Linked DNA regions of Homo sapiens: region 2 is linked to region 1. The links are contacts of gene promoters, found by promoter capture Hi-C in blood cells and fetal thymus (Javierre and others, 2016). All regions are on one chromosome and are shown on one strand. Each heading gives the region's core, a stretch centred on a gene start or on the middle of the fragment in contact. The rest is flanking DNA. Distances are from core to core; before and after follow the strand shown. Region 1 holds the start of NEDD8 (NEDD8 ubiquitin like modifier). Region 2 has its middle 25 kb from the start of DHRS2.

Evidence for each region. Contacts are between HindIII fragments. The CHiCAGO score rates a contact against its expected background, and 5 or more counts as called.
Region 2: a fragment that was not itself captured here is called in contact with the fragment with the promoter of NEDD8 in region 1 in 1 of 17 cell types (non-activated CD4 T cells); the score reaches 5.2 in non-activated CD4 T cells.

What each region holds. Positions count from the first base shown.
Region 1 is chr14:24,227,318-24,233,616 of GRCh38, reverse strand. NEDD8 (NEDD8 ubiquitin like modifier) reads left to right here and starts at 1,250. Exons shown (of 4, transcript NM_006156.3): 1 at 1,250-1,367. The coding sequence starts at 1,350. NEDD8-MDP1 (NEDD8-MDP1 readthrough) reads left to right here and starts at 1,250. Exons shown (of 7, transcript NM_001199823.3): 1 at 1,250-1,367. The coding sequence starts at 1,350. GMPR2 (guanosine monophosphate reductase 2) reads right to left here and starts at 688. Exons shown (of 10, transcript NM_001002002.3): 1 at 640-688; 2 at 277-398; 3 at 19-138. The coding sequence starts at 363. RefSeq lists enhancers at 1,060-1,354, 521-1,386. The HindIII fragment of the contact is 2,879 bases long and covers 270-3,148 here.
Region 2 is chr14:23,607,826-23,614,124 of GRCh38, reverse strand. No RefSeq gene overlaps it. Among named protein-coding and RNA genes, the nearest start is that of DHRS2, 25 kb to the left of the region's middle. The HindIII fragment of the contact is 723 bases long and covers 1,857-2,579 here.

The DNA.
Region 1 (6,299 bases), core at 1-2,500:
GCATGAGGAAAGCCCTACCTTACAGAGAACCTTGGCCATCTCAAAGGTGCCCACAGTATCCATATTGGCAGCAATGATGGGAACCCCAGAGTATGTCTGCTTTGAGTTCCGAAATGAAAAGGATCTTGTGAGATCCACCTGCAGATATGAACAGGAAATTGACCATTTCATTAATCCAAAAAACGTACCATATTAGGACAAGGACAGGCATCTTTCTTGGTTGTGGCCCACCGGGAGCGTGGGGTCAAGAAACAGCAAGTAGAGAAGCTTGCTCACCTCACTTCGAGACTTAAGGGTACTGCGTTTGGGCCTCAAAAGGACATCCTTGAAGTCCAGTTTCACATCGTTGTCAATATGAGGCATGGCGCTTAGCCTCGGGGTAGCGATGAATCTGAGGGCTGGAAGGCAGGAAGTCATAAGGACCAATCTTCCCCTGGGCTTTAACGCCCTGTTACGGCTGGTGGCCTCTCTTCGCTTAAGTTGTGGAAGGTCGGGCAAAGGCCGAAGTGTGGTCCCTGAAGCCTGTCACCTCGACCCATCCCGTGGCTGCGATTACCCTAGGGCTCCATCCCAGGTACTGTTTGTTGGGGAGGAGAGCTGGGAAAGGGTTGTGAGAGACCCTGACGGTGCATTCCTTACCCCGCTACACTTCCTTCTTCTACCCCTGCAAAGAGCAATGGGGCAAGAGGCTGATTTAGGGGAACGAAGGAATGTTGGCGACGGGGGGCGGGGAGGGTTCATAACTAGTTTCCGGAATAGAGGTACTCACTTCCTGTTGCCTTGGTCCAGGCGGCAGTTGACCAAAGACCACCTTGCTTAGCAACTAACCTCGTGCAATCCCGCTAAGCCTTCTGGGCCACGCCAACAGGTTCCTCTAGTTGCCGGCGAGAACTACTAGCCGACGAATTCCAGCTTCGGCGGCGGCAGGGCGAGGCCTTCTGGATAACAGAGTTCACGCACTGAGGTTGCTGTTGGATCCGAGGGGGTTAGACTACAACTCCCAGGGGGAAACGGGCGGGACCGCCTCCTGGCACGATGGGAGATGTAGTTCGTTCTGCCCCCACTTTTCGCTAGCCCGGGCTCGCCAGGGACTCTCAGAATCGCAGAGTCGTCATCTCTGCTGTTGCTAAACTGGATGCCTCATTCCAATTTACGACGTCACTGAACCGAAACGCGGGAGCAACCCTGAGCCTTTCCGGAACCCAGTGGGGGGGGGGGGGGGGGTGGAGCCAGACAGTGACCCGGAAGTAGAAGTGGCCCTTGCAGGCAAGAGTGCTGGAGGGCGGCAGCGGCGACCGGAGCGGTAGGAGCAGCAATTTATCCGTGTGCAGCCCCAAACTGGAAAGAAGATGCTAATTAAAGTGAAGGTGGGAGCACCTCCAGCCTTGCCAAGACGCAGTAGTACTGGGCTGGCAGCAGTGCCTTACGGGAGACGTGGGGAAGGAAAACCACGCCTTTCCCTAGCCTGGAGGACGCTGACTGCCTCAGGGCTCCGCGCGAGGGGTGGTGGGAAATAGGGGGACCCAGAAGGGCTTTGAGAGCGGGGCCCAGGTCCCACCTGACGACCCTGGGGTATTTTGCCATGCCTGCTTTTTTGCCAGGACTGTGCTATCACCCAGAATGGGGTCGCTTTTGTCGGGTCTCACTGTATTCGAACCCCCGCAGTCATAGAGAAGGCCTAGCAGCGGCTTGACTCCCCCGTCTCTCAGATTCTTGGAGTAAGCGCTGCTCTCCATTCTTCATTCCCAGGGTACCTGCTTCTCCCAGTCCCTAACGTAGGTCGCCTCCGAGCACAGCCCTAAAATCGGGGCCTCCCAAGGGCTAGACTATGAGCCTTTACTGGTGGTTGCCAAGGTGTGGTATCTCACCCGTCCTACAGGAACCAAAGCGGGGAGTGTGTTCAGTCAGTACCTGCCTTTCTGAGCCTGGCATCCTGGACCAGCCTCACTTCCTTGGCTGAGGCAGGTTAGTTACCGCTGCCCTAGTTCTTGCTACTAGCCATGGTTTCCTTCATCTGCATCTCTCAACTCCCGTGGTGGTTCTTCACCAATTTCCAGCCCTCGTTAGTCCTATCTGCTGTTTCCTCTTTTGTGCCTTCAGACAGACAGAGACCCCCCCCCCCACGCCCCCCTCAAAAAAACAAAACTGCTGACAAGTGAAGTCTAATGCTAGTTTGGCCTTTTTGTAGCTAAGTAAATCTATCGTTATTTCATCAGCTTCTTAGCATATTTACCGTACATAATAGTCATTCTTAACCTTCTCTTCCCCAGTCCTTCCAAACTACTTCTTAGCTAAGATTTGAGGTCTAGTATTAAAATAGTATGTTAAAGATGATTTTTTTTAACGTTGAGTAGCGGCCTATATAAGAGTCGTAACATCAATTTAATAGGTGAATGGGTCACTGGCGCCATTAAAAAGAGAAAATAGGCTGGGCGCGGTGGCTCACGCCTGTAATCCCAGCACTTTGGAAGGCCGAGGCAGGCCGATCGCTTGAGCCCAGGAGTTGGAGACCATCCTGGGCAACATGGCGAAACCCTGCCTGTACAATAAATTCAAAAAATTAGCCAAGGGTCTGGGCGCATGCCTGTAGGCCCAGCTATTCGGGAGGCCGAGATGGGAGGATTGATTGATCCTGGGATGTCGAAGCCGCGGTGAGCAGTGATGGCACCACTGCACTCCAGACCCTGCCTGAAAAAAAAGGCCGGGCCCAGTGGCTCACGCCTGTAATCCCAGCACTTTGGGAGGCCGAGGTGGGTGGATCACCTAAGGTGAGGAGTTCAAGACCAGCCTGGCCAACATGGTGAAACCCCGCCTCTACTAACAATACAAAAACTAGCCGGGCGTGGTGGTGGGCGCCTATAATCCCAGCTACTCGGAGGCTAAGGCAGGAGAATCCCTTGAACCTGGGAGGCGGAGATTGCAGTGAGCTGAGATGGCGCCATTGCACTCCAGCCTGGGCGACAAGAGTGAAACTCCATCTCCCCCTGCAAAAAAAAAAAAGAAAGAGAGAGGGGGAGAAAATAGGAAATAATATAGTGCTAGGTAAGGATATTGTTTTATGATTTTTTTTTTTTTTTTTTTTGAGACAGAGTCTCGCTCTGTCGCCCAGGCTGGAGTGCAGTGGCGCCATCTCGGCTCACTGCAAGCTTCGCCTCCCGGGTTCATGCCATTCTCCTGCCTCAGCCTCCCGAGTAGCTGGGACTACAGGCGCCTGCCACCACGCCCAGCTAATTTTTTTGTATTTTTAGTAGAGACAGGGTTTCACCATGTTAGCCAGGATGGTCTCGATCTCCTGACCTCGTGATCCGCCCGCCTCTGCCTCCCAAAGTGCTGGGATTACAGGTGTGAGCCACCCTCCCCCGTGCCTGGCCTTTTTTTTTTTTTTTTTTTTTTTTTTTGAGACAGAGTCTCACTCTGTTGCCAGGCCTGAAATTTTTTATTTTATTTTATATGTATATTACACAGGGGGTGTTACTAGTTCATACTAATTTTTAGAATGGATCACTGTCAAAATCTTGAGAAACACTAACTGTTGAATATTTTTATTTGAGACGGAGTCTCCCTCTGTCACCAGGCTGGAGTGCAGTGGCGCAATGTCGGCTCACTGCAACCTCCGCCTCCCGGGTTCAAGCGATTCTCCTGCCTCAGCTTCCTGACTAGCTGGGACTACAGGGTGTGCCACCACGCCCAGCTAATTTTTGTATTTTTAGTAGAAACGGGGTTTCACCAGGTTGGCCAGGATGGTATCGATCTCTTGACCTAGTGATCCGCTCACCTCCGCCTAAAGTGTTGAGATTACAGTCATGAGCCACCGCGCCCGGCCTGTTGAATACTTCTGTTGGCTTTTCAATGCATATGGGTTCTCATGTCCACTAGGTCCAAAGAAGTTAAGTTACTAATGCTAAGTGTTTTGTACACTTTTTGAAAATTTCACTCCACATTAAGAAATTTTATGTCACAACCCATAAGGCACAAAAACTTTGCTATTTGTGATATGCTCTCAGACTTTCAATTCTAAGTTGATTTCATAACCCACTGATGGGTTGAGACCTGCCCACTGATGGGTTGAGACCTGCAGTTTAAAAAGTACTGTTTGAAAGGCCAGGCGTGGTGGCTCACGCCTGTAATCCCAGCACTTTGGGAGGCCAAGGCGGGCGGATCACGAGGTCAGGAGTTCAAGACCAGCCTGGCCAACATGGTGAAACCCCGTCTCTACTAAAAATACAAAAATTAGCCGAGTGTGGTGGCACACACCTGTAGTCCCAGCCACTTGACAGGGTGAGGCAGGAGAATTGCTTGAACCTGGGAGGCAGAGGTTGCAGTGAGCCAAGATCGTGCCATTGCACTCCAGCCTGGGCAACAGAGTGAGACTGTCTCAAAAAATAAATAAATAAAATAACTGTTTGAACAAAAAAATCAATGCTGTGTGTGGAAACTTGAAAATACAGTGTCCTATCACCTGTGGTCTTGCTAAAATGCTGATTATGATTCTGTGGGTCTAAGGTGGGGCACAGGTTTCTGCATTTCTCACAAACTCCCAGGTGATATTGAATGTCTGAGAGCTACACTTTGAATAGCAAGATTCTAGATTTTTTCTGTTTCTTTGAATCCATATTTATGTGGTACTTCTCTAAAATTGCCAGTCTTCTTTCCTGCAACACCCTTCTGCCTTCAAACAGGCCTCTGTGCCCCATCTCTCTCTATCTCCCCCTCTCGCCCCATCCCCTCTTGTTTGTTGCATTTCTTAATTAAATACATAGGAAAGTAGTTACACATGAGATAGCTGTTAATCTGATCTGAAGAAAATATTAATTTAAAAAAGAAAAAAAAGAGCTGTTAATTACCATATAAGTGACATTTTTTATTACAGTTCCTTTTTTTTTTTTTTTTTTTTTTTGAGACAGGTTCTCACTCTGTCGCCCAGGCTTAGGGTGCAGTGGTGCCATCACAGCTTACTGCAGCCTCGACCTCTCAGGCCCAAGCAATTCTCCCATCTGAGCCTCCTGAGTAGCTGGGACTACAGGCGTGTGCTACCACCATACCCAGCCAATTGTTTTATTTTTTTGTAGAGATGCGGTCTCATCGTGTTGCCCACGCTAGTCTAAAACTTCTGGGGTCAAGTGATCTTCCCACCTCATCTTCCTAAAGTGCTGGGATTACAGCCGTGAGCTACCATATCTGACCCCTTTTTGAATTATTATTATTTTTGTTTTGTTTTGCTTTTGAGATGGAGTCTCACTCTGTCGCCCAGGCTGGAGTACAGTGGCACGATCTTGGCTCATTGCAACCTCCGCCTCTTGGGTTCAAGCGATGCTCCTGCCTCAGCCTCCCAAGTAGCTGGGACTACAAGTGCCCACCACCATACCCGGCTAACTTTTGTATTTTAGTAGAGACGGGGTTTCGCCATGTTTGCCAGGCTGGTCTTGAACGCCTGACCTGAGGTGATCCACCCACCTCAGCCTCCCAAAGTGCTGGGATTACAGGCATGAGCCACCGCGCCTGGCCTCATTTTGTTTTTGTTTTGAGACATTCTTACTCTGTCACCCAGGCTGGAGTGCAGTGGTATGATCTCGGCTCACTGCAACCTCCACCTCCCAGGCTCAAGGGATCCTCCCAACTCAGCCTCCCAAGTAGCTGGGACTACAGGTACATGCCACCACACCTGGCTGATTTTCTGTATTTTTAGTAGAGGTGGGGTTTCACCATGTTGCCCAGGCTGGTCTTGAACTCCTGAGCTCAAGTGATCCACCTGCCTTGGCCTCCCGAAGTGCTGGGATTACAGGCGTGAGCCACCATGCCCAGCCGAATGATTCATTTTCAACTGCTGTCTCTGTGTAGCTGACTTCTTCCATATTTTTCTATAAGATTTTACAATTAAATTCTTCCTGATTTAAATCTTGTTACCTTGTCTCTATGGTTCTAAAATTAAATGCATCATCTTCTGTCATAAGCCATATCCCAATACCCATCTCGTGTATTAATCCCATCAATCATTCAGGTGTCTGGAATACAATTCTTTAGAGTCATTTAAAATTACGTGGTCCTTTTATAAGATCTAATTTTTCACTTAAAAGCTCTTTCTGTTTGATTTTTGTTTCCATCTCCATTACCCTCATTCTGGTCTCGGGTCTTACTCATTTATATGTTTATGTCTCTGTAATACATCCAACCAGGTTTTCCTACCGTCATATCCCCTCTAAAGTGTAGTCTAAACCAAGACATGACGTACAAAACCATAATGTGCAGGTCTTCCTTTAGCTTCTTTTTCATTATATTACTCCCTAACCCCAGATCCTTCA
Region 2 (6,299 bases), core at 969-3,468, 620 kb after region 1:
AGTCAGCCTCCCCATAAACCTCACACATTACACAGAAACTAACTCAAAACGGAACACAGACTTAAAGGTGAAACATAAAACTATAAAACATTTAGAAGAAAAAATAGCCTGTTAGTATGGTAAATTGCATGGACTGATTTTTGAATATTGAATGAGACTTGCATGATTGGTCATGGTATATACTGCTTTTTATAAACTGCTGAATTCTATTTGCTAATATTTTGTTAAGGGTTTCTGCATCTACATTTATGAGGGATATAGGACTGTAGCTTTCCTTTTTCTTTTTTTGTACTGTCTTTATTTGGTTTTAATATCAGCATAAAACAAGTTTTATAAAATGAATTGGGAAATATTCCCTCCTCTTCCATTTTCTGGAAGAGATTATGTGGAATTGGGCAGATCTCTCTAGTATATTCCAGAGGGGACAAGTGTTTCTTTCTTTCTTTGTTTAACAATGGTTAATGATTAGCTTGTGGAGGTGAGCCACTTATCTAATACAAGGTTCAATTCTACCCTATTTGTTTTTGTTTGCATTTTGAGATGAGGTCTCGCTCTGTCACCCAGGCTAGAGCGCAATGGCATGATCATAGCTCAGTGCAACCTCGAATTCCTGGGTTCAAGCAATTCTGCCTCAGCCTCCCAAGTAGCTAGGACTATGGGCGTGCACCACCACAACTGGCTAATTTTTTAAGTTTCTGTAGAGACAGGGTCTTGCTATGTTGCCCAAGCTAATCTCGAATTCCTGGCCTCATGCAATCTCCCACCTCAGCCTCTGAAGGTGCTGGGATTACAGGCATGAGCCACCACACCCGGCCTACCCTATTTGTTTTTATATATCTATGATTCTACTGTAGCTTTACCATGTGCCAGAAACTATTTTAGGCACTTTGTAAATATTAAATCTTTTACTCTTCATAACAACCATTTGAGATAGGTACTAGGATTGTTCTGATTTTACAGATGAGGAAACTGAGACACAGAGAGATAATGTAATTGGCACATGGTCACATAGCTAGTAAACAGCCCAGGCTTCTCTTCCCTTAACCACAGTGCTCTTCTGTCCACAGAAGAGGACATTATTATTATTATTTTCCTACTCTAGATAAGGAAACTGAAGCCTAGAGAGCTGAAGTGATTTGCCCAACTGAATGTAACCAAAGTAGAATTCTTGATTCCCACCCACCTCTCTCTCTACATCTCCCCATCTCCGAAAAGTGTTCTAGCCAAAAATTTGAGTGTCCCTTGAGTTTTCTCTTCACCTTACCTTCTGCTTTTAATCCATCAGCCAATCTTGTTGATTTTGCCTCCAAAATATGCATCAAGTTCTCCGCTTCTCTCCATCTCCGCCGCGCTCTCTCATCTGACCACTTCATTCCACTCATACACTCTCACAAGCTATTCTCTTTCCACCTGCAGACAGCATTAGCATTTTAAACATCAGTCTCCACTGCTTAAAACTCTGCAATGGCTTGCCATTGTACTAAGAATCAAATCCAAATTATTTCCCCAACTTACAGAGCCCCCACGGTGTCTGGCCCCAAGCTCTTCCCAGACCATCCTACTGCACTTTCCCCTCCACCTGCGTGCTTCAGCCTCCAGCCGGCCAGGTCAGGCCTGCCTTCACAGTCCCTGTATCTGCTGGCCCTTGAAAGCTCTTCCCACAAACACTTCATTGCTGTTAAATGTCAACCCTCATAGAGACATTCCCTGTTCACCTGGTATGAGACAGATCCTCAGCAGCGCTCTCTCCCACTTTTCTCTTTTATTTTCTTCATGGCACTTATCACCTGCCTAATATTTTTTGTTTGTTTGTTTAGGTTATTTCCTCACCTACTGGAATGTAAGCTCTGCAAGCTTATACTAATAACTAACACTTACGTAGTCCTTATTTTGTGCCAGGCACTGTTCTAAGTACTTTATATGTGTAAACTCACTTAGTCTCCACCACTATCCTGAAAAGTTGCACTCTGAACATCTCTGTGTTTCAGAAGATAAAACTGAGCAACAGAGAGGCAAGGTAACTTATCTATGGTCACACAGCTTGTAAGTCGTGAAGCTGGGATGCAAGCCCAGGCAGTCTGGCTATGGAGTCTGTGCTCTTTTTTTTTTTTTTTTTTTTTTGAGACGGAGTCTCGCTCTTATCGCCCAAGCTGGAGTGCAGTGGCGTGATCTCGGCTCACTGCAACCTCCACCTGCCGGGTTCAAGCAATTCTCCTGCCTCAGCCTACTGAATAGCTGGGATTACAGGCGTGTGCTACCACGCCCAGCTAATTTTTGTACTTTTAGTAGAGACAGGGTTTCACCACATTGGCCAGGCTGGTCTCGAATTCCTGATCTCAGGTGATCTGCCCACCTTGGCCTCCCAAAGTGCTGGGATTACAGGCATGAGCCACCGTGCCTGGCCGAATCTGTGCTCTTAACCCTCATCCTTTATGACCTTCATGGGAGTGGGGTGCTTATTTGTATTGTTCTCCACCAAGTTTCCAGCACCTGTAATAGTGCCCGACAGAGGGGAAGCACCAATAAATATTTGTAGAATAAGCAAATGAATGTTGTATAACTGGTTTAAAGATAAAGCTTGCCTTTGAACCAGATTGGTCGGGCTCCAAAACCACACTCTCCAGAGTATGGGATTGTAGTATTTCAATTTTCAACTCAGAAATTCACTGAAGCTTGCCCTCTACTCTAAAGATGTCTACAGTCCTGTGGGGAAGGCATATTTAAGTAACTACAAGCCAGGTAGAAAAACTGCGGTGTCACAAGGAAAGGGCACACAAAGTGCCATGAGGGAGTGATAACTTTTAACTAGTAGCTCAAGGAAGGATTTGAGGTGAAAGTGGCATTTGCACTGGGTTTGGAAGACTCTGGACAGGCAGAGATGAGAAGGAGCATGTAACTGAAACTACAAGTTGTCTCCTAATGTCTGTTTCCTCTTCTTCCACAGTAATCATATTCCAAAATGTTAGCTGTGCAATTGACCACTGAGAATAAAGGCTATATTTCCCAGCTGCCCTTGCAGCCAGGCACGGCTACCTGACCATGTTCTGCATAAAAGGTTATAGAGAAGTCAGGGATGAAACTTCCATGAGGTGTTCTCAAGTGGAAGGAGCATGCCCACCTCCTTTCTTTGTCTCCCTCCTGCTGTCTAGAACATGACTCTGATGACTGGAGACAAAGCAGCTATCTTTGGCCTCAGAAGGCACATGTTGAGGATGTGGACTACAATGTTGAGGCAGTCTGATCACGAAGGCACGATATGAGGCCCGCTACAGTCTTGTTTAAGCCACTGTTACAAGTGTCTTAGGTTGGGTTACCACAGCAGATCCTAAGACAAGGCTTTATGTGCAAGTAGTTTATTAAACAGATGCTCCCAGCAGGGAGCAATGGCTCCTATCTATAATCCCAGAACTTTGGGAGACCAAGACAGGAGGATTGCTTGAGGCCAGAAGTTTCAGACCAGCCTGAGTAACATAGTGAGACCCCTGTCTCTACAAAAAATTTAAAAATTAGCTGATCAGGTCATGTGTGCCTGTAGTCCCAGCTACTCAGGAAGCTGAGGCAGGAAGTTCCTTTGAGCATAGTAGTTTGAGGTTACAGTGAGCTATGATTATGCCACTGCACTCCAGCCTTAGTGGCAAAGTGAGACCTTGTCTCAAAAATAAAAATTAAAAAAATGCTCCCAGGAGAAACCAGTAAGGGAGTGTGGAAAGTAAGACAGGGAAGGGAGGAGGACAAGCAAGGGAATGTTTCAGCAAAGCCCCAGCCTTAGCCTGGTCCCAAAGGTCAGTTCTGGAGTGTAAACTACACCTCACAGTTTGCCCAGATTTCAGACAATGGAACTAGGCTGTTACCTAGTTCAGCTAAAGGCTGCCCCTGCTTCTCTCGATGTGCAGAAGCTGTGGGAGATGATTAAACGGGTCACAGGGGCTCTGGTGCAACCTCAATGGGCCCCTTACACTGGGTTTTCTCTCACTCATAACTTAACCTAATCCTAAAAAGTACCAAAAACATTTCTGGCAGAGGGGAGAGTATAAATAAAGTGCACAGAACCTGAAGGAACAAGAGGCTATATGAAAGTATTGGAAAGGAAGAGGACAGGAAAGAAAGAAATAGGAAACAAATTTGGAAAACCAAACTGTAGTCACTGGGACTTGATATGGTTTGGCTGCGTCCCCACCCAAAACTCATCTTGAATTGTACCTCCCCACATCTCGCTTCTGCACTGCCCTAGCAGAGGCTCTCCATGAGGGCCCTGCCCCTGCAGCAAACTTCTGCCTGGACATCCAGGCATTTCCATACACAGCAGTCGGGGCCTGGAAATGTAGGGTTGAAGCCCCCACACAAAGTCCCCACTGGGGCACTGCCTAGTGGAGCACCATCCTCCAGACCCTAGAATGGTAGATCCACCAACAGCTTGCACCATGCACCTGGAAAAGCCGCAGACACTCAACACCAGCCCATAAAAGCAGCCGGGAGGGACTTTGTACCTTGCAAAACCGCAGGAGTAGAATGACATGGTTTGGCTATGTCCCCATACTGTTCTCATGATAGTGAATAAGTCTCACGAGATCTGATGTTTTTATAAGGGGCTTCCCCTTTTGCATGGCTCTCTATCTTGCCTGCCACCATGTAAGAAGTCCCTTTGCTCTTCCTTGGTCTTCTGCCATGACTGTGAGGCCTCCCCAGCCATATGGAACTGTGAGTCCATTAAACCTCTTTTTCTTTATAAATCACCCAGTCTTGGGTATGTTTTATCAGCAGCGTGAAAATGAACTAATACAGAACTGTATAAAATTTTGAATTTCTGGCCAATGCATAAACAAAGGGAAACCAAAAGGACTTTGAATCTGATGATTCAGAAGATTAATCTGGCAACTATGTGTGAGAGGAATTGGAATGAAACTTGTGTAGGGTAATACCCATTATGAGGTCATATCTATAATCCAGGCAAGAGGTAATGGTGGCACAACCCCAGGTGATGGTGCTGGGAAGGGAAAGTAGAGAATAGTTGCGAAGTCTTACAGAGAAAGATCTGGTCTTTCTAAATGCTTTGACACGAGAGAAAAGAGACAGAGAGGATCCAAACATGAAGCCAGGGACAATGGTGGCATTGCCAACAAAAATAGGTAACAGAGGAGAAGAAACAAGCTTGATAGAAAATATGAATTCTACCTATTGACATGGTGACTTTGAGATGAAGGGAAGCCTTCTAAATGGAGTTGTCAAGAAGGCAGTTAGAAATGCAAGACTGATAACAGAATTCAAGCATGGAGCCATGGATGTGTGCATTGTCTACAGAGATGTGATAGAAGCCATGACTGTGGATAGGATTACTAAGGGAGGGAGGGCAGAGACAGAAGAGGAAAAGGCCAGTATAAGATACTTGTAAGTTGTGCTGTTTGCCTGTTGCCTCTTGGGCCCATGCCACCCTCCCCTGTGGTGTGAGGGCCAAGGGACTGCCAACAGCCTTTCCCAGACTCTCTCTTGCCAGCTGGCTTCCTATTCAATTCTGCTACTAAGAGGCACTGAGACGTGGCTGAAGGACATAGGGTGAGAGAAGGGTTTTCCTCCTGTTTCCAGCTCCTGTCAATGTCCCTCCAGGAGGACTCTAGCCTAGGGCTTAGCAAACTTTTTCTGTAAAGAGCTGGACATGAAGTAGTTTAAGCTTTGCAGGCCATATGGTCTCTGTTATAACTCCTCAACTCTGCCATTGTACTGCAAGAGCAGACATAAACAATATATAAATGAATAAGGATGACCACATTGCAATAAAACTTTATTCATGGACACTGGAGTTTGAGTGTTTTATAATTTTCATGTGCCATGAGATATATCTTCCTTTTCGGTTTTATTTTCAGCCATTTTTAAAATATGAAGAATATTCTTTTTTTGTTTGCTTGTTTTTTGAGATGAACTCTTGCTCTGTCACCCAGTCTGGAGTGGAGTGGCGCAATCTCGTCTCACTGCAACCTCTGCCTCCCGGGTTCAAGCAACTCTCCTGCCTCAGCTTCCCAAGTAGCTGGGACTACAAGTGTGCACCACCATGACTGGCTAATTTTTTTTTTTTTTTGTATTTTTAGTAGAAACAGGATTTTGCCACATTGGCCAGACCGGTCTCGAATTCCTGACCTCAGACCATCCACCCGCCTCGGCCTCCCAAAGTGCTGGGATTACAGGCGTGAGCCCCGTGCCTGGCCAAAATGTGAAGAACATTCTTAGCTCGTGGGCCATGGAGAAACAGGTGGCAGCTGGATTTGGCCTATGGGCAATAGGTTGCCCGTGCTAGCTCCCAATTCTTC